2 separate regions of the Homo sapiens genome follow, and region 2 is linked to region 1. The links are contacts of gene promoters, found by promoter capture Hi-C in human tissues and cell types (Jung and others, 2019). All regions are on one chromosome and are shown on one strand. The core of a region is centred on a gene start or on the middle of the fragment in contact, and the rest is flanking DNA. Distances in the headings are between cores, read along the strand shown. Region 1 holds the start of MCM2 (minichromosome maintenance complex component 2). Region 2 overlaps HMCES (5-hydroxymethylcytosine binding, ES cell specific).

Region 1 (2,860 bases), core at 361-2,860:
CCTCAATCACCAACACCTATAGACCCCACTTCCTGGCCGGGCGTGGTGGCTCACGCCTGTAATCCTAGCACTATGGGAGGCCAAGGCAGGCGGATCCACTTGTCAGGAGTTGGAGACCAGCCTAGCTAACAATGGTGAAATCCCATCTCTACTAAAAATACAAAAATTAACCGGGCACAATGGCGTGCATCTCTAATCCCAGCTACTCGGGAGGCTAAGGCACGAGAATCGCTTGAACTTGGGAGGTGGAGGTTGCAGTGAGCTGAGGTTGCACCACTGCACTCCAGCCTGGGTGACAGAGTGACTCTGTCTCAAAAAAAAAAAAAAGATTCCACCTCCTAAACATCTTGTATTTCCAGTTCTCTCCATCACTCCTGCCTCCCTACCCTGGGTCCCAGGCAGAGATGCTTGTTCACTGCACAAAGTGCCTGGCTAAGAGGGTTGCGATTCAGCCCTGCCTCTGCTCACTAAGGCTGCCTGGAACTAGACAAGAACCACAGCAACCTCCTCGTTTGCTGCCTTCAACCTCGTTCAATCCACTTCCACCTGGTAGCAGCCAGAGGGATTCTAAAACCCACACTAGTTCACGTCTCACCCTGCTCAAAATGCTTCCATGGCCTTCCATTGCTTTCAGAATACAGAATAGTCAAACTCTCTAGAAAAACATCTAGCTCTTTTTTGATCCGGATTTTCTCTCCCTCAAGTCTTGTCTGTTGCCCGGCATCATAAGCTCCTAGGGTTAGTTCTTAGGGAGGGGCTTGCACATCCGGGCCCTGCCATGACCTCTGCAGCTTTGCACATGGCATCCTTCTATCTGTAACATCCTCCCTGCGTCTTCGCTCCCCTGGGCAAAGATAACTCCTACTAAAGCCTCAGATGTGACCTCCTACAAAATCCCAGAGTTGTCCAGCTGCTTGAAGTATTGAGCCTTTGAGCTTTGGGAGAAGTTAAACCATTGTGCTCCTAAGACGGTAAGAAGCGTCAGAAAACCAGGCTCTGAACCTCTGCTGTCTTTTTTTTTTTTTGAGACGGAGTCTCACTCTGTCACCCAGGCTGGAGTGCAGTGGCGGGATCTCGGCTCACCGCAACCTCCACCTCCCAGGTTCAAGCGATTCTTCTGCCTCAGCCTCCCGAGTAGCTGGGATTACAGGCCCGTGCCACCATGCCCAACTAATTTTTGTATTTTTAGTAAAGACTGGGTTTCACCATGTTAGTCAGGCTGGTCTCGAACTCCTGAGCTTGTGATCCGCCCACCTCGGCTTCCCAAAGTGCTGGGATTACAGGCGTGAGCCACCGCGCCCGGCCTCTGTTGTCTTGTCAGCAAAATGGCCCTGGTGTGACCGAGGTCACGCAGCCAGCAAGTGTCGTCGGGTCCCCTGGAGCCTCAGCTTCTACCTCCGCTCCAGCTCCCACCACAGCGCAGGCGAGCGCACGCGCACAGCGCCGGGCCGCACACCTCCGGGCTCTGGGCGGAGCGCCTCGGGCGTTGTAGGCGGGACCGGACCCTCTGGCCCGCCCCTCCGTGTCCCTTCTGGTCGCCAGTGGACGCCGACGTCATGACGTCGCGTTCCGTAGGGCTCTTCCCGGGCTTTGGTGGGTCACGTGAACCACTTTTCGCGCGAAACCTGGTTGTTGCTGTAGTGGCGGAGAGGATCGTGGTACTGCTATGGCGGTGAGCGCGCTGGCGCGTGGCGGGCGGGCGCCGGGGACATGGGTGCGGAGGCTGCGCGCTTCCCGTACTCTGGCCCCGGCCCAGGGCGGCGCTCTGGGTGAGGCTGGGCCCCAGGCTCTGGGGCGCAGCTACTTTCTCGCCTGCACCCTGCGTGAGGCGACTCGCCTACCTACCACTGACCTGGGGCCCTGGGCTCCCTAAGGCGAGCTCGGCCCGTTCAGCCTCTGTCCTTTATTCACCCCACACATACTTATTGGGCGCCATCTGTGTGGCGCTGAGCGTACAAAAGACAGGCCCCCATTTCACTACACTCCTTTAAACTTTTTTTTTTTTTAATTTCCCAATGATCCTTGTTCCAAACACTACACTTACTTTTGTATTACCTTCTTGTCCCTTTGTCTTGTATACTGTCTGTTCCACATCTGAGTTCCAGACCTCTTGTTTTGGTGGCTCTTCTATGCCATCTCTATCACAATACCTTGCGCACTGTGTGTGCTGAAATAGGTCTAATGCTTAAGGGGAGATAATAGACAGTAAACAGGTAAATAGGCAAATGACATAACCTCAGTGGTTTTTCATGGAGAAAGCACGGTGATGTGGGTGACCCCGATATTTGAGCTGGCTTCTATTTGTTTGGAAGCCACTGACTCAGATTGCTCAGCTGAGAGCATTCCAGGTGAGAGAACAGCAAGGGCAAAGATCTGGAGGCTGGAAGGGGTTTGGTGTGTTGGAGGACAAGAGTCACAGGTGGAGAGAAAGAAGGGAAGGCCCCTGATGGTAAAAAGGAAGCTGTATCATGCCTCACCAGCTTCCTAGGTTTCTGACAACCGCACCTTCTCTTGCAGGAATCATCGGAATCCTTCACCATGGCATCCAGCCCGGCCCAGCGTCGGCGAGGCAATGATCCTCTCACCTCCAGCCCTGGCCGAAGCTCCCGGCGTACTGATGCCCTCACCTCCAGCCCTGGCCGTGACCTTCCACCATTTGAGGATGAGTCCGAGGGGCTCCTAGGCACAGAGGGGCCCCTGGAGGAAGAAGAGGATGGAGAGGAGCTCATTGGAGATGGCATGGAAAGGTAATTTCATTCAAGGCCCTGGACTCAGCAGATAGTTTTGCAGAGAGCCCATTGTGTGCCTGGTGGCCTGGCTTTGGGAGCTGGGAGCAGATGAATCGATGGCATTCTTGCCT
Region 2 (2,700 bases), core at 55-2,554, 1.7 Mb after region 1:
GTGGACTCCTTGATATCCTTTGCTCAGGAAATAATCACATGTTCTCATTTTTCTTCCAGGATCTTTTACTATTTCAAGCTTCTTTTCAATATTTAAAATGTCTCCATTCACATGCATTGCCTACCATGTTTTGAGCCAGGAAGCTTAGACATGTTTGAGATGTTAAATGTGCATCTTTATATATATATATATATATATATATAGAAAAGTTCAGAAAGGCAAAAGAAGAGCAAAACACAATTTTGTAAAATAGTATGCAGTGAGCCAAAGTAGCAGTCAGTGTTTGAGATGGGTGCATTTTGTGGCTCAGTTCATCTGGGTGCAGTTTTCTGTGTTCACCTTGTGTTTCTCACAGATGAAACTGTGCATAAGCAAACACAAAATTTGCATTGTGCTCCAATTGCTCTCTACTGTATCAGTGGCATTGGAACAGATTTGCATTTTAAACATAAGCATTGGCAGAACTGACTATACTTGTATTCTACCTTTATACTTTCTGCCAGAGCTGAGTACTCCCTGAAGTGATTTTTTGGAGTTCTCCTGAAAAGAATGCAGTGTGACACCTGTCAGGATTACCTGCTTTAGCCTTGTCCTAGGCTATATCTGTGAAAATATGCTTTCATGTGGCCAGGCGCAGTGGCTCACACCTGTAATCCCAGCACTTTGGGACGCCGAGGTGGGTGGATCACGAGTTCAGGAGATCAAGACCATCCTGGCGAACACTGTGAAACCCCATCTCTACTAAAAATACAAAAAAATGGCCAGGCGCGGTGGCTCACACCTGTAATCCCAGCACTTTGGGAGGCTGAGGCGGGTGGATCATGAGGTCAGGAGATCGAGACCATCCTGGCTAACACGGTGAAACTCTGTCTCTACTAAAAAATACAAAAAATTAGCCAGACGTGGTGGCGGCTGCCTGTAGTCCCAGCTACTTGGGAGGCTGAGGCAGGAGAATGGCGTGAACCCGGGAGGTGGAGCTTGCAATGAGCCGAGATCATGCCATTGAACTCCAGCCTGGGCAACACAGTGAGACTCCATCTCAAAAAAAAAAAATTAGCCGGGCATGGTGGTGGGTGCCTGTAGTCCCAGCTACTCAGGAGGCTGAGGCAGAAGAATGGCATGAACCCGGGGGGTGGAGCTTGCAGTGAGTGGAGATCACGCCACTGCACTCCAGCCTGGGCAACACAGCAAGACTCTGTCTCAAAAAAAAAAAAAAAGAAGAAAAAAAAAAAAATATGCTTTCATGTGATGTAGTTCTCTTTTAGTAATTAACCTTTAAAAATTATATTTCATTTAATCTAAATCACCATTCATTTAAAAATGTACCATTATTTTATACATTACAGTATTTAACATTATTTTATATGTTATGTATATATTTAGGAGACAAATGAACATTTGTCTGTATCTGAATCAACTGTACCACCCAAAAAGTGTGTGCCACACTGCATTGGCCTGGGACATAAAACTGGAAGCTAAACCTAGTATATTTTCCTTACATCCTCTGGGTACCAGGAGTCATGTTTGACAGCTTCTCTGCTTTTCTGACGCATGGCTTCCTTTTGTTCACAATTTTCTTACTGTAAGTCTTTCAGAGGTGGTGAGGCTTGAGATTGCTGTTGATAGACAAGTTTTCAAGATCTATTTTCCCTTCATTCTAGGCTGGGGTGTCATAGAAAGTTTACCAATTTACTAGAGTGGACACTGGAGTACACTAGACCAGTTAGTACTCTTCACTGTCTTTGCCATGAAACTTTATAACATGGCTCTCCAGGTGTTGAATCTGGTGCCCTGTCACCCTGTGCTCAGGGAACACATGGCAGCAATCAGCATGTGAGGCGCAGAGGGAGGGCAAGCTCCCCTTGTGATATTTGAGGTATCAGCTGACTCAAGTCTCTCTCCCTTCTCTCCTTATTCTCATGCTACCTCTCCCAACCATTGTCTTAACTTCCCTGGCCAGGATGCCTGCCATATTAGATGGAGAGGAGGCAGTTTCTAAATGGCTTGACTTTGGTGAAGTCTCAACTCAGGAAGCTCTGAAATTAATCCACCCAACAGAGAACATCACCTTCCATGCAGTCTCTTCTGTGGTGAACAACTCGCGAAACAACACTCCTGAGTGTCTGGCTCCTGTCGACTTGGTGGTCAAAAAGGTAGGGGCCTGTGACTGGTACAGTCCTTTTTGAGCTTTCTGTCTTCTGTCAGTGTTCTCTTTCTTTCAGGATGTGGCCTTTTATGATCAGCCCTTTAATTTGGACCATCAAAAGCTCTCATACTCCTTGTACACAGCAAGGTAGTGTAGAGCAGCAATTCTCAAACCTGGCTGTGACTCAGAGTCCCCAGGAGAAGAACTCTTTCAAAATGTAAATGCTAGACCCTATCTAGACATCCTGAATCAACATTTAGAGCTAGGCTTGGACTTTTGTATAATTAAGAAGCTTCAGGCTGGGCGCAGTGGCTCACGCCTGTAATCCCAGCACTTTGGGAGGCCGAGGCAAGTGGATCACGAGGTCAACAGATCGAGACCATCCTGGCCAATATGGTGAAACCCCGTCTCTACTAAAAATACAAAAATTAGCTGGGTGTGGTGGCCCGTCCCAAGTAGTGATCCCAGCTACTTGGGAGGCTGAGGCAGGAGAATCACTTGAACCTGGGAGGTGGAGGTTGCAGTGAGCCTAGATTGGGCCACTGCACTCCAGC

What was found. The method cuts DNA at HindIII sites, captures the fragments that hold promoters and counts their contacts. A contact is called where the count stands out against the background at its distance.
Region 2: a contact is called between a fragment that was not itself captured here and the fragment with the promoter of MCM2 in region 1, in 1 of the 25 tissues and cell types used here (stomach).

What each region holds. Positions count from the first base shown.
Region 1 is chr3:127,596,801-127,599,660 of GRCh38, forward strand. MCM2 (minichromosome maintenance complex component 2) reads left to right here and starts at 1,611. Exons shown (of 16, transcript NM_004526.4): 1 at 1,611-1,672; 2 at 2,518-2,747. The coding sequence starts at 1,667. It also overlaps a transcript of TPRA1 not described here. RefSeq lists enhancers at 1,289-2,246, 1,600-1,719 and a silencer at 1,750-1,909. The HindIII fragment of the contact is 12,111 bases long and covers 1-2,860 here.
Region 2 is chr3:129,299,990-129,302,689 of GRCh38, forward strand. HMCES (5-hydroxymethylcytosine binding, ES cell specific) reads left to right here. Exons shown (of 7, transcript NM_020187.3): 6 at 1,961-2,153. Among named protein-coding and RNA genes, the nearest start is that of H1-10-AS1, 15 kb to the right of the region's middle. The HindIII fragment of the contact is 3,010 bases long and covers 1-2,700 here.